7 separate regions of the Homo sapiens genome follow, and regions 2, 3, 4, 5, 6 and 7 are each linked to region 1. The links are contacts of gene promoters, found by promoter capture Hi-C in blood cells and fetal thymus (Javierre and others, 2016). All regions are on one chromosome and are shown on one strand. The core of a region is centred on a gene start or on the middle of the fragment in contact, and the rest is flanking DNA. Distances in the headings are between cores, read along the strand shown.

Evidence for each region. Contacts are between HindIII fragments. The CHiCAGO score rates a contact against its expected background, and 5 or more counts as called.
Region 2: a contact is called between a fragment that was not itself captured here and the fragment with the promoter of SMC2 in region 1, in 2 of 17 cell types (fetal thymus and non-activated CD4 T cells). The highest score is 10.0, in fetal thymus.
Region 3: a fragment that was not itself captured here is called in contact with the fragment with the promoter of SMC2 in region 1 in 1 of 17 cell types (non-activated CD4 T cells); the score reaches 5.1 in non-activated CD4 T cells.
Region 4: a fragment that was not itself captured here is called in contact with the fragment with the promoter of SMC2 in region 1 in 5 of 17 cell types (non-activated CD4 T cells, total CD4 T cells, fetal thymus and 2 more); the score reaches 7.7 in non-activated CD4 T cells.
Region 5: a contact is called between a fragment that was not itself captured here and the fragment with the promoter of SMC2 in region 1, in 1 of 17 cell types (total B cells). The highest score is 5.2, in total B cells.
Region 6: a fragment that was not itself captured here is called in contact with the fragment with the promoter of SMC2 in region 1 in 3 of 17 cell types (total B cells, non-activated CD4 T cells and activated CD4 T cells); the score reaches 6.7 in total B cells.
Region 7: a fragment that was not itself captured here is called in contact with the fragment with the promoter of SMC2 in region 1 in 1 of 17 cell types (total B cells); the score reaches 5.2 in total B cells.

What each region holds. Positions count from the first base shown.
Region 1 is chr9:104,092,712-104,096,794 of GRCh38, forward strand. SMC2 (structural maintenance of chromosomes 2) reads left to right here and starts at 1,598. Exons shown (of 25, transcript NM_006444.3): 1 at 1,598-1,766; 2 at 2,613-2,841; 3 at 3,437-3,586. The coding sequence starts at 2,674. RefSeq lists enhancers at 881-1,550, 1,013-1,332, 1,551-2,218. The HindIII fragment of the contact is 5,032 bases long and covers 1,165-4,083 here.
Region 2 is chr9:105,443,947-105,447,675 of GRCh38, forward strand. It overlaps a transcript of FSD1L not described here. Among named protein-coding and RNA genes, the nearest start is that of FSD1L, 2.2 kb to the right of the region's middle. The HindIII fragment of the contact is 2,128 bases long and covers 886-3,013 here.
Region 3 is chr9:105,706,390-105,710,194 of GRCh38, forward strand. The region is part of intron 2 of TMEM38B (transmembrane protein 38B); the gene reads left to right. LOC107987107 (a long non-coding RNA gene) reads right to left here. Exons shown (of 4, transcript XR_001746868.2): 2 at 1,656-1,803; 3 at 938-1,012; 4 at 1-81. It also overlaps the pseudogene LOC100421293. Among named protein-coding and RNA genes, the nearest start is that of TMEM38B, 14 kb to the left of the region's middle. The HindIII fragment of the contact is 7,200 bases long and covers 1-3,805 here.
Region 4 is chr9:105,553,775-105,557,567 of GRCh38, forward strand. FKTN-AS1 (FKTN antisense RNA 1) reads right to left here. Exons shown (of 3, transcript NR_184141.1): 2 at 3,340-3,401; 3 at 261-569. Among named protein-coding and RNA genes, the nearest start is that of FKTN, 2.5 kb to the right of the region's middle. The HindIII fragment of the contact is 2,062 bases long and covers 1,210-3,271 here.
Region 5 is chr9:105,392,068-105,395,976 of GRCh38, forward strand. It overlaps SLC44A1 (solute carrier family 44 member 1), which reads left to right. Exons shown (of 16, transcript NM_080546.5): 16 at 1-3,909. Among named protein-coding and RNA genes, the nearest start is that of FSD1L, 54 kb to the right of the region's middle. The HindIII fragment of the contact is 966 bases long and covers 838-1,803 here.
Region 6 is chr9:105,686,589-105,690,512 of GRCh38, forward strand. No RefSeq gene overlaps it. Among named protein-coding and RNA genes, the nearest start is that of TMEM38B, 6.0 kb to the right of the region's middle. The HindIII fragment of the contact is 8,166 bases long and covers 1-3,924 here.
Region 7 is chr9:105,497,868-105,501,516 of GRCh38, forward strand. All of the region lies in intron 7 of FSD1L (fibronectin type III and SPRY domain containing 1 like), which reads left to right. Among named protein-coding and RNA genes, the nearest start is that of FSD1L, 52 kb to the left of the region's middle. RefSeq lists enhancers at 2,670-2,789, 2,800-2,849. The HindIII fragment of the contact is 2,745 bases long and covers 381-3,125 here.

The DNA of each region.
Region 1 (4,083 bases), core at 348-2,847:
ACTTATTTTACTCCCTTATCGAGAAATATTTTCAAAATATAAGCCCATTCCTGGTAGGTTAAGACCAATTCAGATGACTGCATTGCCATTCCAGGGCCAAGAAAGCAACTTTAAAAACATGACCTACGCTATGGTCTAAATGTGTCCCTCAAAATGCACATTTTGAAATCCTAACTCCCGAACTGACGGTTTTAGCAAGTGGCATCTTGGGAAGTGAGGAATGGGATTAAGGTCCTTATAAAATAGGCCCAAGCGAGGGCCTCTGCCTCTCCACCATGCGAGGACAGAGCCAGAAGGTGCTATCCACTAAAGAGAAAGCACCCCTCCCTAGACACACCTTATTCTGTGACATTCCAGCCTTCAGAAATGTGAAGAATAAACTTCTGTGGTTCATAAACTACCCAGTCTAGGATATTTTGTTATGGAAGCCCAAAAGGATCAAGCCATTCCAAAATAGCATTGTTGCCCACACCATCTTTTTGAACCTCACTTAGGGTAACACCATACCCATTCGGAGTTAAGCCCTTCCTAACTCTTAAGTATCAACGTGCTTGGAAACGTGAGCAATCCTGACACGTTTTTTCTTCCTAAAGAACAATACATACTAATAATAGGATCGGCTAATAATACTAGATTCTATGCATGAAGCCTAGTATTTAAAAGCATGCAATCTGGAGCTAGACCGCCTGGGAACAAATCCCAGCTTACTAGACAAGCTGTTTAACCTTTTACTTGGTCTCATTTAACTCATTTGTAAAACGAGGGCAATTTCTGATTTCATAGGGTTGCTACGTGGATTTTAAAAAGCCCCTTGCAATATAGCCTAATATTCAGAACTCAATAACATGAACTGTCTTAAAAGGTTTCCAGAAAAAATCCCCAACAGGTTAGGTCGGCTTATCATTACAACGCTTTCCGGTATAAGGGAGATGAATAGCTATTTAGCACCACACAATTTCTCCTCTGGGCTCGGAACAGCTCTCGGTAGACTACGATCCCTTTCCGACGTGGAAACTTCAGATAAAAACGCTCCCCGAGGTCCGAGGCCAGTACGGGGCGGAGCCAGGACGCGGGCCAGAGTCCCCCGAAGGACGGTGCCTCTCTGGCCCCAAGAAGTACAGCTTTTATTTTGCAGCAATCTGAGCCAACCCGAGAAGATTCTGAAGCTTCCAAAACAGAACCGACGAGAACACTCATAGAATGCCTCTCCACTTCCTAACTGTCGCTTTGAGGAGAGAAAAGTAAGCCACAGCCAGCACCGCAGACTGGAGAAGGCGGAGTCTGCAGTGTGCCTAACGCGAACTAGAGGGACCGAGGCGGGGCGGGGCTGGCGAAGCGCGAGGACCCGGGGCCGAGGTGTGGGGCTGACCATAGAGTGCCGGACGCCGGTGTGAACATACACTATCTGCTCCTGTAGTGCCCAGGCCCCTGCCGGGGAGTCCCCGGAGCTACCATTATCGAGACTCTCATTCTATTGCCCTGCGGCTTTAATCCTTCGAGTGTAGGGGAAAAATTGAACCCTAAAGACAGGCAGCTCCTAGGCACCAGCACAGGAAATAAGCAATGGAGGTGGGGTCCTTTGCTCGCGCCGAAATTCAAAGGAATAAATAGTTCCGGCGCGGGTGTTGAGAGCGGTGTGGCAGGTGTTGTAGCCGCTATGGTGAAGTTCGCTTTGTAGCGGCCCCGGCTAGAGAGTTGTTCTGTTCCCTGCCTTTGTGACCCGGAGGAGCTTTTGGGGTGCGTCAAGCCCCTGGCCTGAGGCAGCGGTGAGGCGTGTGCGTGAGCACGGCCGGTTGGGCCGGGCCAGACTTCCTGGCGGGAGGCGGGAGGCGGGAGGCGGGGCGCGGGGCGCGGGGGCTGTAGGGAGGGGGACCAGTGGCAGAGGGACCTTAGGTGATCCTTAGAAATAAAGGCTAGCTTCTGTTCGACCTTGGAGTAGGGCGAAGAGGTGTAGACAGGCCTGGAGAAGCGAGGTAAAAGCCTGAGTAAAAGCAAGAAGTTGGAGAATATGAGATACATCTCATCTCTAGTAAATACTTAAATGACTTCCCCTCCTCCCGGAGTCAAGCACAATTCGGGGATGCAATGACGGACGTAGGTGAAGACACTGCGGGAACTTACAGACAAGTAATGACCGTCTAATATCAGCTTTAAGTACCATGAAGGAAAAAGAAAGCCGAGTGAAGGATTGTGGAGAGGTGACATAGGGAGGTCAGGGAGGACTCCAGTAAGGTGACATTTGAGCAAAGACGTGAGTGCAGTAGAGAGTAAGCTATGTCAGTATCAGAGAAAAGCACATTATAGGCAAAGATAATGGGATATGTAATAATCCATAGTCTTTGTTTAGGTAGAGTATGATAAAAGTAGAAGGCAAGCCTGGAAAAACGGGTAGAAGAAATAGTTAAGACTTCCCAGTTGAATGGTTTAATTTCCAGATAGTGGCTAACTCTGGTATATTTTTGAGTAGATGAACGATGTCTTTACATCAGACAAGATAGTTTGTCAAGTGGCTGTTTTATTTCTATCACCCTATCGTTGCTGTTTTTGCCTCGTGTTCATTATGATTCCAGGTTTACATTCCACTTAGGTGGTGGTATTTCTGTTTCGTACAGAACTGGTTTGTGGCCTGTTTGATTCCTGTCAGAGGTTTGCTGACCCAAGACAGTATCGAAAATGCATATTAAGTCAATTATTCTAGAGGGATTCAAGTCCTATGCTCAGAGGACCGAAGTCAATGGTTTTGACCCCCTCTTCAATGCTATCACTGGCTTAAATGGTAGTGGGAAATCCAACATATTGGACTCCATCTGCTTTTTGCTGGGCATCTCCAACCTGTCTCAGGTAAAGTGTAAACTTTCTGATTTATTTGAATTTAAGTTGGCAGGAGAATCCTCACTGAACTTTGGAGACGTCCCGATATTCTCTTCATTTGTGTTTTTATACTTTTTGTAAATTACACCTCACTGCAACCTTTTAAGGAAAGTAATATTACTCCTTTAGATGAGAAAATAGAAACTTAGAGATGTTTAGAAGTAACAGTGCCTCAAAACTCAGGCATTCTGACTGTAAAGCAGTCTCATTCCAGAGTATTTTCAACCCTGTGTAATGATGCCTTTTCAAATCCTATTAATGGATTGAATGACTAGTGAAAATCTTTGGGACAGTATTTCCTTATATCTTGCAAAGTAACTTTTTATTAAAAAATGAATAGGAAACAATTCAATTCAGGGTTGAAAAGGTTCTGTAGAGAAAAGTGTCCATTGCAGGTTGTTGCCTATTTTCCTTGTTTTTCTTGCCAGAGGATGCAGCTGCCTAACCTTGTCTACTTAATGGACACTACGTTGGTGGGTTTTCCAACAGCAAGGGACCCATTTTTAGTGCTGCTTTGTACGGTAGGGAGTTTTGTAATTGTTACACTTTTCATATTTTATTTTAGGTTCGGGCTTCTAATTTACAAGATTTAGTTTACAAAAATGGGCAGGCTGGTATTACCAAAGCCTCTGTGTCAATCACTTTTGATAATTCTGACAAAAAGCAAAGTCCTTTAGGATTTGAGGTTCATGATGAAATCACAGTAACAAGGCAGGTGAGTGGCAATTAAACCTTTGGGTATCTTAAGACCTTTTATGTCTGATGTGGTTTTTGGCCCTATGCCTTTGCAAAACGTGCTAGAGAAAGTTCATGAGCAAAATTGGTGCCTTAAATTCTGACTAGATTCCTTAATGTCTTCCTTATATTAAAATCTTGATCATGCACATTCTATCACTAAGAGGATTGAAAGACAGCTGAAAAGTTGTTCATCCAGTATAAGCACTCAGCTATGCTGAAATCTTAAACCATATTTGAATCTTCTTTGGTTGTTCTTGAACACCTGTGTACTTGAGATCTTTCAATCTTCTGAGATAACCCATTCTGTTTTTGGACAGGTCTTATTAGAAAGTTAACAGCTATAAGTTTTGTCAGAGTCTGCTGTCTTCAAATTTTATTCATTAATCCTAGTCCTCTTGAGAGCACCAAGAGCAAATCTAACTTATTCCCTACTTCAGTGTTTAAGTGATGTGCAAGTATATGTGTTTTAGTTCT
Region 2 (3,729 bases), core at 700-3,199, 1.4 Mb after region 1:
CTTAGAGAGCCTTGGAGTCTTCCCAGGCTGGGTGGCAAATGCTAAGACTCAGGCCAGATATAGTAGCAGGGAGCAACGGGCAAAGATTTTGGGCTTCAACAAAGGGCAGCATTTGACTAGTGATTATACTCCAGAAAAAACAGGTATAACAGGGAAAGGGGGAGTTGTGGTGAGAATAGGTCTTTTAAGGCCCCAAAGATCCAGAAGGAAAAAGAGCTGTGCAAGGGTAAAACAGAAGGACATTATGAGTAAGAGAGTAATTATTAGTAACAGCTACTACTTGTTAAATAATACTAGCCAGCATTTGACCTACATAATCCCCTTTAATCCTCACAGCAACCCTAAAAGGGAATTACTACTATTCTGATCGGTATGTTACAGACGAGGAAATTGAGGTTTAGCAAGGTAAGTGACTCACTGAAGGCTACGTTGCTGGTAAGCAGCAGCATCTGGATTTAAATTCACACTGCTGACTCCATGCTGATGGCCCTATACTGACTCCCAAAGGGATAGACTGCTGGCAACACTGAAAGGAAGGAAATTTCTCTCCTAAGAGATGGGGGAATTTCAGAATATACGAGGTAGCCCAGGGCTGCAGGCAATACCTGGCACCACTCAGAGAGGATACAGAACCTGGTTCTGGGAGAGACAGTTTTGCCAGACTCTCTACATCAGCCTTTCTATGAGGCTATCCTAACTTGAGGTTTCCTCAGAAAGAGGTTCCTGGAGGCCCAGAGACCTCAAGAGGATAAATGTCTATGACTAGATAGGCTTTTTAAGAACCAGAAACCTAGGTTTTGAACTGATATTTTTATGCCTCTGTAGTCCTCTCCCCGACCCCTTTTTTTGTAAACAATTTGCTTTCTCGCAGTTCAATGGCTCTCAAGCTTAGAGTTCATCAGAATCACCTAGAGGAAATGCTAAAACACAGATTTTTGGATTCTACTCCAAGAGTTCCTGATTCAGTAGATCCAGGGATAAGGCTGGACAATTTGTACTTCATAGAAGTTATGAGGTGATGTGGATTCAGCTGGTCCAGGGATCACATTTAAGAAAAATGCTTTATTTTATTTGTAAAACTACTTTTGAAAATTTCTAAATGGATTTGGCTGTGAAAAAATAAGTACAGAAAAGGCAAAGGACTTGCCTATAGGCCAGAGGTACTGGGAGGGATTGGGTGGGAGACTTAGAGCCCAGCTCGGTACGTGGCTGTGATGGGAGAACTTGTACAAACTGGGGAAGACAGAAGTCACAGTCAGAAGGAACTAGCTGTTTCCCAGATGGGAACGAGGGGAAGCAAAAGGCCCAGGATGAGCTGGGCAGGAGAGCCAGACTGGCCAGAGACAGAGATCAGGTGAGGGCAGAAGCCAAATGGGGTAGAGATGTTGTCAAAAGCTGCAGTCTGCTGGCTGGGCTACAGGGAAAGAACTTGGGAAGCTGGAGGCAAGGAGCCAGGAGTGAGCTCCTGGGGTGTGGACTGTGACAGAGTCTGGTGATCACATTTCAGCTGCAACTCACTGTCCCCAAAAGCCTCTTTCTTCTTTCTCTGGTGGTGCCTGTCAGTCATAAAGTGCCTAGGAATTGCCCTCAGACAGTAATGAGGTTAAGTCCTTGCAGCAAGAGAAGTGGGGACATCGCCAAGCCCTGTCTCCTCTGCTTAGTCGTGGGTCCCATAGTGGCAAGCAGGGGCAGAGCCAGGAAGCACGCAGTCTGGTGAGTAGACTTTAGATGTTCTCCAATCGCCAGGCTATTTCTCCCTCATGGGAAACTGACTCAACTGCAGTACACAGTGTGAAGGAACGACCTTTGTGGCTGCAGCAGTGGGCTAATGGCTTGGCGCCTGGCTGCACTTGTTATTCCTCACGGAGTTGGGAAAGGTTGAATAAGAGGCTCTCTTCCCTTGGTACTAAGAGATGGGCATCTCTTTGAAGGACTGCATGCCACTACTCCTTTCAGCTGGCACACATAGGCCCACCCTGGACCCTGGCTCTCTAAGCACTACCCACCCAGCCTTAGCCAAGCTCTTCTTTTCCCTTTTGTAACTTTCATTTCATTTCTTGTACATCTCTGTCCAGTTAAAAAAGGATGTATTAAGTGCATACTATGTGGCAGACTCTGAGCTGGGGATACAGATATGGGGTAAAAGAAATTCAGCCCTCAAAAAAAAAATCACAGTACAGTCAGGGGGATCCATGTGGAGATGTAATGACAACATTGTAGAATAAATGCTGTTTCTCAAACACAGAGCTCCTTCTCTCCACAAGGCCTTTGTATTTGTTGTTCCTACTTTCTAGAATGTTCTTCCCTAGATCCTTGTACAATTCCTCTTCTCACTTTATACTCAGGTCATTTCCAAGAGAGATCTTCCCTGACATTTCTATGAAAAATTAAACCCTCCCAATTCTCTGAATCCATTTGCCTTATTTATTTATTTAGGAGCTGGGGTCTCACCCTGTTGCCCAGGCTGGAGTGCAGTGGTGTGATCTAGGCTCACTGCAACCTCTGCCTCCAGGACTCAAGTGATCCTCCCGCTTCAGCCTCCTGATTGGCTCTGGCTACAGGCTTGCAGCACCACGTCTGGCTAATTTTTTTTTTTTTAATTTCTGTAGAGATGGGGTTTTGCCATGTTGCCCAGGCTGGTCTCGAACTCCTGGACTCAAGTGATCCACTCATTGGGCCTCCCAAAGTGTTGGGATTACAGGTGTGAGCCACCATGCCTGGCCTAAGTTTTAATTTTAGCACCTATAACCGTCTAGCACGTTAACTTTTTTTTTTTTTTTGGTTGGTCTTCTATACTAGATTGTAAGCTCTGTGAGAGAAACAGGGCCTTGCCCACTACTGAATTTTGTTTGTAGAACTGGTACAGAATAGGTACTCAATATGTATTTCCCTTTTATTCATTCATCATAAATGACTGTCTAATTGAACTTTTGTGAGCCTCTCCAGAGTCATCCAAATGGAAGATGAGGCCTGTCTGCTTGAGGAAGAACTTTCTCAAGCCTACTAAATTCCAAGCTTTCTAAAATCTTCATTGATGCCTCAGGCCACACCGAGCAGGTTCTAACTCCCCACTAAGAATGACTATAATGGGCCTGGCACATGCCCTGTAACCCACACCTGTAATCCTAGCAATTTGGGAGGCTGAGGTGGGCGGACTGCCTGAGCTTAGGAGTTCGAGACCATCCTAAGCAACATGGCTAGAACCAGTCTCCGCTAAAAGTACAAAAAATTAGCCAGGTGTGGTGGGGGCGCCTGTAATCCCAGCTACTCATGAGGCTGAGGCACGAGAATTCCTGGAACCCGGGAGGCAGAGGTTGCAGTGAGCCAAGATGGCACCACTGCACTCCAGCCTCGGTGACAGACCGAGACTCCATCTCCAAAAAAAAAAAAAAAAAAAAAAAAAGAGAATGACTATAATTTATTCACTACTAATTATGTACCATACGTTATTTAATCCTCACAATCCTCTGCAAAGTCCGCATTATTTCTCTCATTTTACAGATGAAACAAGCTCAGGCAGACTGACTTGCTCAAAATCATACAGGTAGCGAGGTGCCGGGGAGGATGGGTGGGTCCCCGGGAAAAACTGTGCCAGGCCCCAAAGCTCATATTAATCCCACACCCACGTTTCCGCCACTCTCATCCCTATATCCCTCCTCCCACGTTTCCACCACATCCCCTAAAGGTCTTTTCCCACGTTTTCGCTACATCCCCACCCCAGCCCTTTTC
Region 3 (3,805 bases), core at 1,132-3,631, 1.6 Mb after region 1:
AGACCAGTATGCGTGAATACAGGAGGATATTTATTGTGAGGTACACACCGGCTCAGTGGATTTACCTCCAAAAAGCTGGGCCTTGAATAAAGACAGAGCGAGGTTTTTATAAGTGGGCTCATAAGAGCAAAACAAAGGTAGTTAATCATATAGTGCATAACTTGTGGCCTTGCATAGCTGGTGGCCTTTTAGCTGTGTCAAAAGAAAAACAAGAATTGGCTAAATACAGGCATTTGTAAAACACCGTTATGCTTAAGAGGCAAGGGAAAGGAGTAACAATAAAGGAATTTGTCTTTCTCTCTCTTTTTTTTTTCCTTAACCTTGCTCTGGAGGGGGCGGGGGTGTCTGGAGCCCATTCCTCTGTCCTTGGCTTTTTGGACAGTGTTATAACTGTTCTTGAATTGAGCTGCTAAGCAGAGGAAAACTTTTTTTTTTTTCTTTTTAACCCTTATTACAGGCTCACTGCAACCTCCACCTCCTGGGTTCAAGCGATTCTCCTGTCTCAGCCTCCCAAGTGGCTGAGATTACAGGCATGCGCCACCACGTCTGGCTAATTTTCTGTATATTTAGTAGAGACGGGGTTTCACAATGTTGGCCAGGCTGTTCTCAAACTTCTGATGTCAAGTGATCTGCCCGTCTCAGCCTCCCAAAGTGCTGAGATTACAGGCGTGAGCCACCATGCCCAGCCTGTCTTATGTATCTTTAATAGAAGCATTTCCAATATGAAAGGGCATTAAGTATTTGGCCCTAGAGTTTATCTTGTGAACCTAACTGATACACGCAGATATACAACATGATAAAATCATGTATGTGACCAACTGAAACTAACCAAAAAGTCCAAATAATTATGGCTCATATTTAATTATTCTTCTCATACTCTGTTGATTTTATGAGATCTTTAAATTTTATAATTTTGAAGTGAAGAAAAAAATGTTACCCGGAATTGCCTTGAATTCTTGCAAATCCAAATTCGTTATCCTTAAGAGGATTGATCCATCAAGTTTAAAATAATCTATAATAAAAATTATAGTTTTTTTAATGTATAAAGCAGAAACTGTTTTCTGTTAAGAACCATATCATTAAATATATAACAGGAACACTTACAGTTCATTTTTATTGTGATAATTTTAAAATGAATATGTAACCAGTTCTAAAAGGGATATTACAAATAATAGTAGCAATGGGAAAAAGTAATCCTGGGAACCTATGGCAATGTTGAGTTGTTACGATATGTCAGTTAAGTTCTTTATATTCATTGTTATATTTAATCAGAGGAGTACTATAAGGTAGCTATTATTATTTCCATTTGACAAATGATAAAATTGAGGCATAGGGAAATGCTGCTATAACTTTCTTGTCTAGTAAGTGGTTGAGCTAGAATCAAAACAAGAAGTTTTTAACTTTAGAGTCTTCACACTTTGTAGCCACTATCTCTCACAGATTTGTTTAACCATCTCTTAAAGTGTAGTCTTCCAGTTGCTATGTGTTTTAAAAAACTTTCCCAAAGACTTTTATTTCTATAACAATATTTTTAAAAGTTATTAGCATTTTGGAAGAATTTTTTGATGTGTATAGATGCTGAAACTATACAAAAAGGAAGATATCCAGAATTTGATACTTTCTGTTATTTCTACTTCTGTTCCTATAATACTAACCTCCTGGATGATTGCAGGAGCTTCCTAAGTGGTCTTGCTGCTTCTTTGATTATCCCTTTGAGTCTATTCGTTATTCTTCATGGAGCAGACAAAATTATTACAGTTGGCCTTCTATACCCATGGGTTTTGCATGCTTGAATTCAACCAGCTGCAGATCAAAAATATTTGGAAAAAAATCCAATAAAAAATAACAATGCAACAATAAAAATAATGCAAATAACAATAATGTGTAACAACTATTTGTATAGTATTTACACTGTATTAGGTATTATAAATAATCTAGAGATGATTTAAAGTGTAGTGGAGGATGTGTGTAGGTTATGTACAAATCCTCTGCTATTTTATATAGGGGCTCTCACATTCACAGATTTTGAAGGAGAATCCTGAAACCAGTCCCCTACAGATACTGAGGGACAACTTAAGTTAGAACATGTCACTCATGTGCTCAGTAATTTCTTATCTTATTAAGAACAATATCCCAAACTTTTACCATGGCCTGTAAAACCCTGCAAAATACTCGCTTTCACTTTCTTTTATGTAACGTCTTACAACTCTATTCTTGCTCAGTTTGCTCTAGTCACATGAGCTTTGCTATTTCTTGAATGTTCCAACGTAAGGTATTCTTCTACCTCAATGCCTTTGTACTTTCTTTCTTCTCTTTGTAATCTTTTTTTCCTCAGAAGTCTCATATTTTGTTTTATCAGAGAGGCCTTCCCTGACTAAAGTAGCACCTCCTCTCCCATGACTATCACATCATCCTTCTTTATTTTTCTTCTTAGAATTATTGCTATCCAACATGTTATCTGTTGATTTTTTTTTTTATGTTGCTCTAACTATACTGGAATAATAGCCCATCAGAGAGTGAGCCATCATGCCTGGCCCCTGGCTAATGTTTAAAATTTTTATATTTGTTGAGATGAGGTCTCACTATGTTTCCCACGTTGGCTATTTTTTTTTTTTTTACTGTCAAAGTTATTTATTCACTATACATAGAACATGTCCCCTATAAAATGTACATGTAAATCACTAAAAAGTAAAATTTGGTGAACATTTTCTCAATTACAGAACATACTACATCAGTTGGGATAATAGCTGTCTACCTTAAAATAATCTAATTATAGCACCCAGTCTCGTTTATATCTAATGCAAAGTTAAATACTTATTTTGGGGGTTATTTCCTAGTATGTGTTTGGTGAGGCTGAGTAAACAATTTAATATAACTCCAGTATATTACAGTCACTGCACAATAAATCAGTTTATTACAGATTAAAACAAATCATTTTTTAATTATTTGTAATAATGGGATCAGACAAACACGGGATAATTTTAAATGGCATATAACCACACAATTACTTATCTTTGATAGTATATTGGGTTCTATAATTATATTAAGATATGAATGGTGTAAAATATTGTAACGAATAATACATCTCAAACAAGACAATTAGGCCATACTGTAATCATTCACTAGATTGTACCCAGTAGACATTTACTGAATAAGGGAATTATCTACTTTTCTCCTCAATTAACCAGTACAATGTTTTGCCCACAGTGTCAGCACTCAATAAATATTTGCTGAACATACTGACTAGGATAGAGGTGAGAAGAGATGGGCCCTCTTAGCTGGATGTCGAATATAATTGGAATTTACCTGGGAAGGAGAGTAGTTAAGGAAGATGTAAACTGCATGTGGTGTACAAGTAAATAAACGCAGATGCCAACAAAGCCAATGATTAAGCAGAAAACACTGACACCAAAATAAACAAAGGCAAGATTTGCCAATAATGGCGAAAATGGAACTTTTATATTGGACCATAACTTTTCCCACCTAAATCAGTTTGAGGCAGACCAACAGAGGCACTGTAAGAGACTACGGCTGTCTTCCTTGATATTCAGACATCCTAGTTTCCAATAATTTATTATGGACCTATTACCCATGAATCAATATACGCTTATTCATATTTAGGGATTAGTTTCCGCAAGTACAAAGTTGAATGTCCTTTTATTTGTCCTAAAATGCTTACTTTCAAACTTGAGGGGACTTCAATTATTCCATGTAGTTTTCGATAACATTCTTTTATCTTTTCAGACCAGAGTCAAAATATTTGTACAGTATTCATACTGCAGCACCTTCCACACACCCCTTTGTC
Region 4 (3,793 bases), core at 991-3,490, 1.5 Mb after region 1:
CTGATCACCACACAGTCTTGCTGTGCTTCTCTTCATGGGATGAAAAATTGAGGAGCCAAGGGATTATGCCTACTTGGAATGCATGTTTCATTACCCACTTATATACTATATTATTGAAACAGTCTTTCGTTGTCTGAGATAACACCTGGAGTTCTTGTCCACTTATATACTACATTATTGAAACAGTCTTTCGTTGTCTGAGATAACACCTGGAGTTCTTGTCCCACCTCCAAGACGATTATGGAGCACGGACACAAAGGTGAGGTTAGAGTGAAAGTTTAATAAGGTGAAAGAAGAAAGCTCTCTGCCAGCAGAGAGGGGGTCCCGAACGGGAGTGCCCATCATGAGGCTGGGGTCCAGGTTTTTATGGACGGAAGGGGAAGGAATGTGCTTAGTCTGGGGGCTGTCTTGGCGAATGCGTGACTCGGCTTGGCCCGGGACCAGTCAGGAGGTGAAATGATTCATAGATGCTGCTTAGCTTGGCCCAGGACCTATCAGAAGCTGAAGTGAAGTGTGGCCGAGGACCAATCGGGCTGAGGTGATGATACACAGCAGCTGGACTTACAGTCCTAACAAAGGAAAGTAGAGCGCCCATAGGAACTTACCAGAGCCCACTGTGCCCATGCCTACAAAAGGGGAATAAACTTTTCCTGGGAACCTGCTGACAATACAAAGGACCAAGGCATTTCTATGCCAGGCCTTGTTCCCTTATCTGAGTGAGCTGGAGGTTTGTGCAAGTTTTTATCCAAATGGGCCGTAGGTTTTTCCATCTGTGCAGTCATGGGCATGTCTCCAGGCACAACACCCTGTGCTAGTTCCCTTATTGGTGCCTGCAGCTTTTTTCCCAGGCTGCTTTTTATATTATCTGGGGATAAGGCACTGACTCATGAGCCAGGGGCTCTCCAGGACCCTTCTCTTGTTACCTACCTAAGGTAAGCTAACTAACCGGATCCCCACACTCTTGCTGTGCCTCTCTTCATGGGATGAAAAATTGAGGAGCCAAGGGACTATGCCTACTTGGAATCCATGTTCCTTTACCCACAGAATTCTATACTATGTTATCAGCCAGAACCCCAGGATTCCTTGCCTCATCAGCCTGAAGCTTGCTTCCAGGATATGTGCAGGCCTTTTGTCCAAATCCATCCTGAAAAAAGACTACTACAGATGTATATACCCCTATGGCTGGCAGTTTGTGGGAAGTACAGATGAAGCTTGGATGTGCAGACTGAGTTGTCCACATGCATGCATGATAGGCCCCTGTGGCAGGCTTAAGCTAGAAGTAAAAAGAGACCCAGGGGATCAGGGAAGGGCAGGCCAACCTAGTATCACTTTCTAGTACACTTCTGAAGAATCTGCGAATCGCATATTTGAACCTAGATTTCTGTTCCTTGAGAATACATGTTAAAGTAGAAGAGTATAACATTTTATTTGTTGGTTAACGCTCAGCTATTTAGACACTGAAAATATGTCAGGGTTGGCTTTCATTTGTATTCTTGGCCCAGACCCTACAAATGTTAGGAGTCGGCCAGGATCCTTACATGTGTGCACAGCTGAGTGGTTTATAGAACATGAATATTTACTTGTAAGAGAGGCTGTTTTTATGCATCCTTGTACCCACTCTTTCAGCTGTATTTGCTATCCAGATTAAAGCATACTGACTTGACGTTTGCCATGAGCTGAGGGCTCACATTTGACCTTTCAGTATGCTTGATAAGTAACACTGCCACCAGTTTAGTTGTATATTTACCTTCAGTTATGTTTGTTCCCAAACCTGCTTATGTAGGTGGTAGTCACTGTTGTAGTCATGTAAGTATGTAAACCAATTATATAAATATATAAACCAAAATAAATATGAAATGAGTATGAAAAGGTACTTATAAGAAAAGTACGAGAACCATTAGAGATGAAGAGTTTAAAAAGTTGCAAAGTTAGTTGTGGCCAAAGTAATTGTGAGTGATAGGGGAAGATTTTTAAAAATAAATTCCAGGACTCCAAATTTATATTCCTTCACTTGTATCTTTAAGTTCCTGGTCCATTTTACAGAAACAGAAACTACAAATGATGGATGATGCATTATGTCTATGGTTTTGTAAGAAAAACAGTGAGATACTCTAATCAGCTGGTCCATGCTTAAAATGAACTTAGTTCAAAACAGAAGATTGGCCATTGTAACCCTCTACTGAAACTGCCTTTTTGAGAAGGTTTATTCAGAACTAGATTTGTTATACACTTGGAAAGTATTTATTTCTAAGAACCTGATAATTTTTCCCTTTTCCTGTTACTTTTAATTATAATTTCCAAATATACAGAAAAGTAGAAAGCCAGTGCTTTGTGCTCATCACCTAATCAATTGTTAACATTTTGCCATGTTTGTGCTATCTATTTTGTTTTAAAATGTCACCTGTAAGTATGCTATATGCATCCATGATGGCTTTTAAAAACAGCCACATTCTGTTAACATTCTTAGCAAAATTAACAGTAATTCTGTACTATTATCTAATGGATCAGTCCATACTAAAATTTCAGTTGTCTCAGAAGTATCTTTTTACAGTTATCTTGTTCAAATCAAGATCTAGACAGGGTCCACACATTGTACTCCGTTACATCTCTTAAATATTTGATTTTACAATAGTTCCCTCTGCTTTTAAATGCCATTTATGAAAAAAACTGAGGAATTTGTCTGGTAGAATGTCCCGTTTTCTGAATTTAGTTGCTTCTCTATATCCTGTATTAGATCTAGAGTTTGAGTAAATGCAGGTTCAATTTTTAGGCAAGAATCCTTCACAGGTGTGGCTGTGTACTTTCTATCACATCAGGAAGTACATAATATATGCTTGTCCCAAATTTAGTGAGATTAAGATCAGTGGGTTTAGGTGATGCCAGTCTATTATAAAGTTCCCCATCAACCTTTCACCTTAATTTTATCATCTATTGATGTTGCCCTTTCGATTATTTTATTAGGAGTTACAAAATCGTGATTGTTTTATCATCCTCCATTTATTAGCTGGAACTCTTATAAGTACTTTGGTTACACTAAAATTCAATTCATACAAGAAAGGCAGGATAAATGCTTGATGTTTTCCCTTATCAAGTTTTAGAATATTTAATCTTCAACTTGGCAATCTTCAATCACGACTGAATTTTATTTTTTAAGGAGTCATTATAAACTCAAGAATTTTTATATTTGATGTGTTTCAATCAATAGCAAGTATGTGATGCTCAAGTTTTCCCATGTCCCATCACGTTAGCACCTGTGTTAATGATGCCATTAAGCTTTGATAACTTACTTCCTCTTGGTGTAACCTTCCACTTTTTTTTATTAACCTACTGAGTACCTACCCGTTCTGAGTGCATTGGATGAGAGGACTTCAACAGTAAGCTTGTATGTGCATAGGAAATTTCTGGAAGGAAAAACAAAAAGTTGGTAAATGTCATAACCTGTAGGAAGTGAGGAAGATTTTTTCTTCCTTTTCTTTCTGTACTGATAGAATTAAAAACAAAGCTTAGAAAACAAATATATGATGGGAGTATTTTCCGTTTTGTAGAAATAAATTATAATTACAGTAACTGGTTTAGTGAATTATGGTTTTCAAAAATTTATAAGAAGATTAATATCTGAGCCTTAACAACCACCTTTTGGATTACACCGTTAAAAGAACCAAAGTGAGAGGATCGCTTGAGGCCAAGAGTTCGAGACCAGCCTGGGCAAGATGGTGAGGACGCCCTCCCCCCCACCCCCGCCACACCCCGCCCTGCTAGCCCCCAACGTCTCTACAAAAAAAGAAAAGAAAAA
Region 5 (3,909 bases), core at 71-2,570, 1.3 Mb after region 1:
CCCATCTTCTATGAGAGGCTTACCAGTGCATTAGTAATAAAACATTAGCAATTTAGCTAGAGCACTGAGATTGTATAATCCTTGCATGGATGAGCAGAGCTCAAAGCCAGTTGTTCCTTTAAAGCATTTAATGCAATGGCTAATGTTTAGGATTAAAGTTTTTATTTTATCCTATAAGATAATTAAGTCCTAAGTCACTACAACTTAAGTAGCTTAACTGTATGTTGGTACCCAAACTTTTTCTATAATGGTTAAGGAGGAGGCACTTACTGAGTTTATTTTAAAGTTATGCTAGAAATGTTTTTCTTTTGTAGAGATGCTCTCTCTCTCTCTCTCTTTTTTTTTTTTTTTTTTTTTTTTTTTCCGTGAGGGCATTAGGCTGCTGATTGTAAGTTATTTCCAATACCACTGATCTTGGTATCTGCCAAGGGCTTCCTTGCCTTCCCTGGGCAGTTTTAGGATTTCACCCTAGTAGGGGGTATGAGGCACTGACCCCTTTATTCTGGACCCAAACTGCTTTAGAGCAGAGTTAATACCTCTCCCTCCCTCTTCAAAACAGCTACAGGAACTGCAGGCACCACATATGTGTGAGGCCACATCACTGCCCCTGAGGCTTCAACTATTTCCACCATGCACTATTACTAGCTACTAACAGCCATTTTAAGAGATCTCCTAGCCTGCAAGGTAGAATTCTGGGATCAGTTCCAAAACCAGAACTGCCAGTAATGGTGACTTGAATATTTTATTTGATTTTTGGTCAGTAACCTTGTCATTTAAATTGGACTTTCCAATAGCCTTAACATGGCCTCTGAGAAGTTTCCTCCAGAAAGGTCTTTAAGCTTTCGCTTTTCAATAAGTAAGTTCTTTACTGCTTTTCTACTGCTACTTTAAAAAAAAAACAACAACAACAAATAAAACTCTCAGAGTCTGGAGGCTTATCAGTGCACCTGCCACAGTTAATTTCTGTATTCTTTTCATACATTCCATCTGACACATACGAGTGCACTATAATGGCTTGCCTAGAACTGGTAAGAAGTGGTCTGTGAATGTATATTGAAAAAATGTGGGTTCATAAGTAAAAGCGTAACGCAGATATTTGTGTATTCTGTATTCACAGCGTAGGCTGCCTTTTGCTTTAAATGCATATTCATGTATCTTTGTGTGCTAAGAATGCATGTTAGCCCTTTTGAAAAGTAGGCACTATTCATACACAGTAGCTTCTTGGAATTAACTCATCTTTGTTAACTTAGTGGCACATAGTCCAAATTTTTAAAAAGCAAGACCCTTGAATATGCCAAGAGAAAATCTAAAGCTAGCAAACTTAAAAAACAAAACAAAAATTACACGTCGTGTACAGTTATGAATTTAGAATAGCACACTTTTTCCATTCAGATTTCATACATTTGAGCCAAATTCTTATACTCCATGTTTTAATTTTAAAAGGATAATTTTAATCCAAGATTTAAATCTTTGAAAATATCTTTCTTATAGAAAACTTTAATGCAGTTTTTAAACTTACTGATTTCTGTGGAAAACCTTTCTTTTCTATAGAAATACTGTAGTGCCCTTTCTTCCCATCTTGATTTTGTACATGTAAAGACAAATGATGATTCAGTTTCAATATTGCATGAACAATTGCCACTTTGTAAATTATATGGACAGAATGTGTTCTAAGGAAATTCGTTAGTAAATTTGTGAAAAACATGTGAGATTGTTCGAGACCTATTAGGCTATTCTTCAGTTTTGATGCTCAGTTTTACAACTTAAATGATTTTCTCCAGGACACGGAGCTCAGAATAATAAAGCTTTTATTAATGGTCTAGTGAAGATCTAGTTGAACATGGAAACATTGTAATTTACAAATGTCTCAGAAATTTCTCACTTTTATTTGCTAAGACCTGAATTTAATATTTGATATTCAAAAACAAGTTATTTTGAAGAGACAATGGGTCTCTTTGAGCTTAAGAAAGCTATGGACTATCTTTCCTTCAAATGCACATCACATGTCTGTGAACACTCAAAATGCTCATAGAATTTCAGGGCCCTCAGACGGCCAGCTTCCACCCCTGTACCCCCTCAGGGGCTAATGAACCCAAGTCAAAAGGCTGCTCTAAAGTTGTTCTGATAATGTGTTTTGAAATGAGGAAGTGATTAGGCCTCCACTAGAGATACTTTTGAGATGATGCTTACCACCTTCTGACCTGGAATCATTTTTATAACTTAAAGACTTTATGTAATTTAGTAGCAGGTTAGGGAATAGAAACCACACTAATCTGAAGGAATAACAAGATGATCAACACTGAATCTTCATGACAGTAAGATTTTCTTTCCTTGGAGGTATGAGGGTGTGTATGTGTGTGTGTGTGTGTGTGTGTTTGTGTGTGTGTGTGTGTGTCCTGGCGGTTATTTGGGGGCAAGGTACCAGATTATTTGCAGTGAGCCAAAAAAAAAAAAATATCCAAGAAGAAATAAATAGGGAATCCTTGTAATTAATCCATCTACCAAAACACTTGATTCTTTTTATTGTAGCTCAGCTATGACATTATGACATTATGTGGCTTAGTGTTATCAGTATACTACTGTCTTAAAATATATTTGTCAACATGTCCAGTTCCAACAACAGTTGAAGATGATGATAAATTAGCAAACTCAAGGGTAGTCCATAGTTGGCAAAAAATAAATTTGGTAGAAAGTTGGAGGAGCAGATGCTGAAGGTAGAAATGCAAAAGATGTTTTTTCTTCCTGCATAAATCACGGAGGTGTGTTCTGTTTTAGTGTTTTCCAGTCACCCACTAGAGCAGCTTCAGATTCCTCTGCCAATAGAACTCCACCCCCAGTCCCTTACCTACTCTATCTTCTTTAGGGAAGCATGTGGATTTCTTCACATCTGCACCTTACTATTAGGTAAGGGTGCTGCATCTACATGGAAGGCTCCCTGGGCCCTTGAAAAAGCAGGCAGAAACTCATCAAGGGGTTTGAAGTTCTTGTGAAATTTGATCCCAGTGGCTCATGACTTATAGTCAGGCATCAAACCATTTCCTACTTTTTCAGGCTGAAGAAAGTGGAAATATAACTGGCTGGTGAAGAAAGGAGAAAAGTCAGCCCCCTACCCCACCCCACACTCCTAGAAAAGTTTGGGGGTTTTTTTTGTTTGTTTTTGGTGTTTTTTTGAGACGGAGTCTCGCTCTATCGCCAGCTTAGAGTGCAGTGGCTCAATCTTAGCTCACTGCAACCTCCACCTCCCAGGTTCAAGTGATTCTCCTGCATCAGCCTCCTGAGTAGCTGGGACCACAGGCATGTGCCACCACACCCAGCTAATTTTTGTATTTTTAGTAGAGACGGGGTTTCACCACGTTGGCCAGGCCAATCTCGAACTCCTGACCTCAGGTGATCCACCCGCCTCAGCCTCCCAAAGTGCTGGGATTACAGGCATGAGCCACCGCGCCCGGCCTAGAAGAGTTTTAATGAACCTTCCACAGTAGTAAATGCAGAGACCACTGGTGGAAATTCCCATGTTGGATAGAAAAGGGCGTAAGTCCAGTCTAAGTATCTAAATGTGATATGCCCTTTTGTCACAGAAGTGTAAGACTTAAAGGGAATATTCTGACCTTCGTGTATGAATCTGATCCACCCATCCTGTCAGCTAGGATTATAATTTGAACTGTCGTTTCAGGAGCATGTGTTAAATCATATGAGTAAAAAAAAAGTAGACATTGAAAAGAAGACTTGGGAATAATTGGGCAGATAGAATGGGTTCCATGGATCATTCTAGTTGCCACTAGAAAATGTGAGCTCCTTCTTCATTTACCATGTTGATAATCCGGTGGTGACTTTTTTTTTTTTTTTGTAAATTGTATTAGATACCCCACAGGAATGTGACAATAATAGGATAGCTTTGGGGGCTGGTGA
Region 6 (3,924 bases), core at 425-2,924, 1.6 Mb after region 1:
TTCTATCCATACATATACGATTCCACTAATTGACCATTATCTTTAACAATAGTCCTGAAAATATATGTGATGTAGACCCATTCTGTATGAAAGCTAGACAAGTTTGGACTCAACCAAGGAAGTCTGTATTTATTGTCAATTGTCGCATGGAAACAGCTTACGTTGGAATAATTTCGCTTGGTGATTGTTAATCCACCTGCAACTGCATTTTCCCTCTCTGTGTCTACGGACCCTCCTGACCATGCATGCTCTGGTATTTGGACACATTTATAAATCCCTAGGTACGATTCTTTTTATTTGCCCATATATCAAGTACATGTGTTCTCACTGCTAGTGTTTCGGTTTGATCAACCCATCTATACAGATAACCGACACTTTGTGGGTTCCCAGCCACAGCCATGTGCATTTTCTTTCAAACCTCACCCATCCATCTTATTCTTTTTTGTGACAGGGTCTTGCTCTGCTGCCCAGGCTGGTGTGCTGTGGTACGATCATATCTTACTGTAGCCTCAAACTCCTGGGCTCAAGTGATCCTTCCACCTAAGCCTCCCGAGTAGCTGGGACCAGGTGCACCTCACCACTCCTGGCTATTTTTTAAACATTTTGTAGAGATGGGGTCTCACTATGTTGCCCAGGCTGGTCTCAAACTTCTAGCCTCAAGAAATCCTCCCACCTTGGCCTCCCAAAGTGCTGGGATTGTAAGTATCAACTACCACACCTGGCGTCATCCACCCCATTTTCTAATCTCCTTCCTTTGCCTGTCATCTAGTATAACAAGATGCTAATTTATCGTGAAATTCCATTAGATCCCCTAAGACAAAAGATGCTACTTCTACATTCTGAAAAGACAATTAAGCCCTGTCTATGCAGGACTTAATAAAATATAACAGCTGGCCTAGTGAACTTCACTTTCAACAATCCAAGAGGTCAAGAATTTGAAGGGAAATTCATGGAAGGGAATTCAGAGGGCTAGAGGCTTTGCCTTCCTACTCCTCTCCCTGTGAAGAAAGAGGTGCTAACTTCCCCCAAGCCAATTCAGACTCTATTTAAGCAGATAAGAAATTATTTTTTCACGTAACAGGAAGTCTGAGAAGGACAGTTGATAACTTCAATGATCTGCTATTTTCTCTCATGGTCACAACATGGCTGCCCTAGCTCTAGGCAGAAAGACAAGGAGAAGGGCCAATGTCAAGGGCATAGTCCCTTTTATCAGAGAAGCCACATATTTTCATTGATCTATTTTTCTATTTTTTCACCAATATCGTACGTCTTGATTATCACCGTAGCTTTATAGTAAATCTTGAGGCTGGACAGTGTCAGTCCTTCAACTTTGTTTTTCCTTACTTTGTTTTCAGAAGCATGTCAACCTAGGTCCCCTGAAGTTTTATTTGCCAGTATCCTAACACAAGTTCACACCTTGCTGAGAGGCTGAACAAACTATATCTAATGTTTTAACCGGATACACAGAGTTGAATATGTGTGCTGGGTTATTCAACCAGTGGTGTCTGCCTTAACTGTAGAGGTTAGGAGATCTTGCTGTGTGAGCTCCATGGCATCATTGGGGAACCCACAAATAAACCCCATGAATGAGTCTGCATTGACAGCCTGCCATAGAGAAGAATATCAATAGCCAAAAGCAAACCAAGACAAAGAAACCAAAAAACAAAAACTATGACCAACATTTGCCAACTAGAAAGTCTTCTGTTCCTTTTCTCTAATTTCCCTCCTCACTGCCCTAACCCTAGAAGACATAGCAGATGAAAGGAGCAGAAGATGAAGAAAGGCTGGAGGACTCCACCATGCCCATTGCCCCATCAAAGTCTCTGAGACAGGCAGTCCTGAGCAAATGGGAGGAAAGAAGTTCTATATTGCATGTAAGATGGATGTTTTAACTGGACTGGACTTTTTATTTTATTTAAAAAATATCTTAAGTTAGCTGGGAATGGCAGCAGGCACCTATAATACCAGCTATTTGGGAGGCTGAGGCAAGAGAATCACTTGAACCTGGGAGGTGGAGGTTGCAGTGAGCCAAGATCCTACCACTGTACTCCAGCCAGGGCAATAGAGCGATACTCTGTCTTAAAAAAAAGAAAAAGAAAAAGAAAAAGAAATCTTAAATGACAACAAAGCAATGGGATCTGCTGAGATAATGTCAAAGAATGGGATGGGGTTACTAATGATTACTAATTGGTCTTCCTGGCCCTTATCTGGTGGGTGGCCTTTTCATTGCTGTAGGGATGCTGAATCTCTCTGTAAAGGAAAACTTCAAAAGAAGTATTTGGGTTCTGTTAGACAGGAGAAAACCTAGTAGGAGTACATAGGGAAGACTGATTGTAACAGAATAGTAACAAATTTTGGTCTGTCACTGCCCATGGTGACCTCTCTAGCACTTAGTTTCCTACTTTAAAATAAATGGGTTGGCCGAGCGCTGTGGCTCACGCCTGTAATCCTAGTGCTTTGGGAGGCTGAGGCAGGCAGATCACTTGAGGTCAGGAGTTGGAGACCAGCCTGGACAACATGGTGAAACCCCATCTCTACTAAAAATACAAAAATTAGCCGGGCGTGATGGCAGGTGCCTGTAATCCCAGCTGCTCAGGAGGATGGAATCGCTTGAACCTGGGAGGCAGAGGTTACAGTGAGCTGAGATCGCGCCACTGCACTTCAGCCTGGGCAACAGAGCAAGACTCACCCTCAAAAAAAGAAAAATAAATAAATTAAAAAATAAATAAAATAAAATAAACAGGTTAAAGAAAATGATTATACTAGACATCTCTTGGGATGTCTGCCTAGCTCCCTCCTTTCTCTTTATTTTTTTTGAGACAGTGTCTCACTATGTTGCTCAGGGTGGTCTCAAACTCCTGGGCTCAAGCGATCCTCCTGCCTTGGCCTCTCAAAGTCCTGGGAGTACAGGTGTGAACCACTGCACCCAGCCGCTCCTTCCTTTTTCAGGAAATTGCCTCTGATATGTAGGGATGCATCAGATCTGAACCACGTGACCCGGCCTCCCATCAGAACTGATTAACCAGGAGTGTACAGCTGTCCCAGGCCAGGACAGGGTCTTTCTCCTGGCAATATTCAATAGGGGGACCCAGAGGCTAAGAGATGTTGGCACTGAGTATCATCAGTGACTGAGAGAAGTGCACACCCACCTGTTGCTGCTGGCCCCAGAAATGCTCTACTTGCTTTCCTTGGGTCTTGACTGCTCAACTTTTCCTGGCTTTCATGAGATTCCCTAGTAGACTTTCAGCAAATTGCTCATTTTGCTTAAGCTGCACAGAACGGTTTTCTATTACTTGGACTCCATGTTACTATTTTTTTTAAAGGGTCCATTCAACTTCCAAAATTCATTTACTCTGTGATTTAATGGTACCTGTTACTCTTTAACAGAGATGTTGAAGAGCAATATGGTGAACTTAAGTGCTGATGACCACAGACAACTGACAGCTATGGCATTGGTGGGTGACTACAGTTTTAGCAGTCCTTACGCTGAAGAAAGTTAGAGGTATTCCCATAATAACATCAGGTTTTTAATCTGGTAAGTTTGTACTTGTTATACATGGAGAACATTTTTAGTTTACTAGTTTATATTAGTGGTATGAATGACGATTATAGAAAAGGATTTTAGTTTCCAGTGCAATAAATAAGTGAGCCATGTCAGGTTTTCCAAGACACAATATCAAAGGCACTATTATTAGATACATGCTGAGTCTAAAGAGTTGAGTGTATACTTGAATTGGTTGCACTTAAATCTCATGCACTGGCATCTAATTGTACTGATTGAATTCAGTGGGTATTTTGAGGGCAATTGGTGCTCTCTAGCTAATTCTCCTTGATAATCCTGAATATTAAAAAAGGTTGAATTCAAATTACATATACTTTGTCTTAAATGTCACATATTAATACATTATCATTTGATACAGTGTG
Region 7 (3,649 bases), core at 503-3,002, 1.4 Mb after region 1:
GAGTCTTGCTCAGTTGCCCAGTCTGGAATGTAGTTATATAATCATAGCTCACTGCAGCCTTGAACTCCTGGGCTCAAGGGATCTTCCTGCCACAGCCTTCTCAGTAGTTAGGACTACAGGCATGTGCTACCATGCCCAGCTAATTTAAATCTTTTTTTGTAGAGATGGGGTCTTACTGTGTTGCCTAGACTGGTCTCAAACCCCTGGCCTCAAGTGATCTTCCCACCTCAGCCTTCTAAAGCACTGGGACTACAGGTGTGACTACCACACCCAACCTGATTTTTGTTCTAATTTTCATTATTTCTTTTCTGCTTGCTTTGGCTTTATTATTATTATTATTATTATTATTATTATTATTGTTTTTAGTTTACCAAGGCGAAAGCTTAAATTACTTGTTTTAGATCTTCTTTTCTAATATAATCATTTGTCAGTGGTGGGGATACATTCTAAGAAATGTGATGTTTGGCAATTTTGTCATTGTGCAAACATCATAGAGTGTATTTACACAAACCAAGATGGTATAGTCTCCTACACATCTAGGCTATATTATATAGCAGATTGTTCCTAGGCTACAAACCTGTACAGCATGTTACTGTACTGAATACTGTAAGCAGTTGTAACACAATGATAATAATTTGTGTATCTAAACATATCTAAACTTAGAAAAAAATACAGTCAAAATATGGTATTGTAATTTTATGGGACCACTTTTGTATATGTGGTCTGTCATTGACCAAAATGTTGTTATATGGCTTATGGCTCATGACCATATGTGCATTCAGTGTTATAATTTCCCTCTAAGCACTATTTTCGTTGCATTCAACAAATTTTGATAAGTTGTGTTTTCATTTTCATTTAGTTCAAAATATTTTAAAATTTCTCTTGAGATTTATTCTTTGACTATGTGTTGTTTAGAAGTGTGGTTTTTATATTTTTAGTAGAGATGGGGTTTCGCCATGTTGGCCAAGCTGGTCTTGAACTCCTCATCTCAAGTGATCCGCCCCCCTCCCAAAGTGCAAAGATTACAGGCATGAGCCACCGCGCCCATGCTAGAAGTGGGTTGTTTAATCTCAAAGTATTTTGGGACTTTGCAGCTATATATCTTTTTCTGTTAAGTGATTTCTAATTTAATCATTGCATGATTTCTATGCTTTTGAATTTGTTAATGTGTGTTTTACAGCCCAGAATGTAGTCTTTGTCTTGGCAAATGTTCTATAGGAGCTTGAGAAGGATGTATATTCTGCCATTGTTGGTTGAAGTAGTCTGTAGATATCAATTACATGCAGTTGATTGATGGAGTTGTTGAGTTCAACCATGTACTTAGTGATTTTCTGCCTCTCTCCCATCACTTGTATCATTGTTGTCATTTATTTCACTTATGCAGCAGTATGTGTAAGCACAGATACACCACACACATTCAAATAAATAGTTGCCCTTATTGTTTTGAATTAACTGTTACTGGTTAGATCAGTCAAGAATAAGAAAAATAAGTTTTTATTTTACCTTCACTTATCCTTCTCCATTGCTCTTTGTTTCTTTGTCTTTAAAGAACTTTTTAAAAACATTTCTTCATAGCATGTCTATTGGCAACAGATTTCCTCAATTTTTATTTGTCTGAGAGAGTTTTTATTTCTCCTTCACTACTGAAGGATAATTTCAAGGTATACAGAATTGCTCCTCTATAGGTAAGGTCCCCTCCTCCGCCCCCACCTGGCTTCTTTCAAGTGTTTTCCTTGTCTTTGATTTTCTGTGGTCTGAATATATGCCTAGATACAGTTTTTGTTTATGTGTGTATGGCAGGGAGCATTTATTTTGGTTGATGTTCCCTGAGCATCCTAGATCTGTAGTTTGGTGTCTGATATTAGTTTGGGATTTTCTCAGTCATTATTGTTTCAAATATATCTTCTGTTCCTTTCTGTCTTCTTCTTCTGTAATTTCCATTATACATATTTACTCCTTTCGTACTTCCACAGTAAATTTTGGATATTCTGTTCTGTGGGGTTTCTTCCAATCTTTTTTGTCTTTGCTGTTTCATCTTGCAGGTTTCTATTGAGAGATCTTCAAACTCAAAAGATTCTTTCCAGTCAGCTATTAAGTCCATTAAATTATTCTTAATTTATGGTACAGTGCTTTTTATCTTTAGCCTTTCTTTGCGGTTTTTTCTTAGAATTTCTAGCGCTCCACTTGTATTGCCCATCTGTTCTTTTATGCTGTCTACTTTCTCCATTTTATGCTCTCTGCTTTCTCCATGAGAGCCCTCAGAATATTATAGCTGTTTTTAATTATTGGTCTGATAATTCCAGCATTTCTGCCATATCTGAGTCTTGTAATTTTTTCTTGATGACCAGACATGTATTGGGTTAAAGAAACTGATGTAAACTGGCCTTTATTAATGTGGTAGTAAGGTGTGTGGGAGGGGCAGCATTCTGTAGCACCATAATTAGGTCTCAGTCTTTTGGTGAGCCTGTGCCTCTGGACCGTGAACTTTGCAAGGGACTTCTCAGTTTTCCCCACTCCTTATTCCTGGATTTTTCGGTGGAACAGGATGGCTGGAGTGGGCTGGGGTTGGTCTGGGTATTTCCCTTTGCCCACATGGAGTAGCTCATTGGAGTTGGATATTTCCCTTTCCCCAGGTCACTTAGTCTCTGTTAAAACCCCAACAGATTAGACTATGATTAAATAGTTTCTCTTAAGGGAACAGAAACTCTGATGTATTTCAAAATACTTCCTTTTCTCCTCCCCCTGCTGTGGAAGCATAAGGGGATTTTTCTCTGTTAGTTATTCATGGTGAGAACCTGGTAAGCTCCTGGAGGTAAAACTCACAAATGTGTGGGGACACTCCTATGACTGGGTCTCCTTGGAGCTGGACTCTCAGACATTCTGCTGTATTCCTTAAGTAAGTACAATTTCAATTAAAATTTAAATAAAAATTTTGCCAAGGGATTATAATCTCAAGCATTTGAGATAGTTTATTTCCCTTTCATTTCCAAATGGAGTAGTTTTATGGAGAAAACTCAGCTTAATAATATCAGAAAGGCTTTTCTAATAGCCACAACTGACTAACTATGACAAGATCAATTTTAGGAAATAGTAACTCTTCCCATCACTAAAATAATTCGGTAAGAAGCTTGACAATAACTTGAAGCCAGTGTTGTAAAGGGAATCCATTCATCAGAAGATATTGACCAGTGCTTCTCAAACTTTAAAGTGCATGCAAATCAACTGCAGATTCTGATTCAAGAGTCTTAGTGTTGGACTTGAAGTAACTTAGGCTTATTTTTGCACACATTCAAGGTGAGAAGCACTGCCTTATTTATAAAAGCTCAGCAATATAACACAATAAAATTGTTTTATGCGGGATTTTTTTTTTTGCTATCATAGGATCCCTCCAGAGTATGGTAGTTATATGATAGTTATAGCAGTCTATGATAGTATATGAGTCCTCTTCTTTTCTATTTGAAATTTTTGAAGTTTTTTTCAGATTGTGTCCTCTTGCTCTGGCTTTCATGAATTCTTTAAGGTGACACTGTTGCTTATTTCTAAAGTTCCCATCGTTTACAGTTTTTTATTGTTTGAGACAGGGTATTTCTCTATCACCCAGGCTGGAGTGCAGTGGCATCATCATAGTTCACTGTAGCCTCTAACTCCT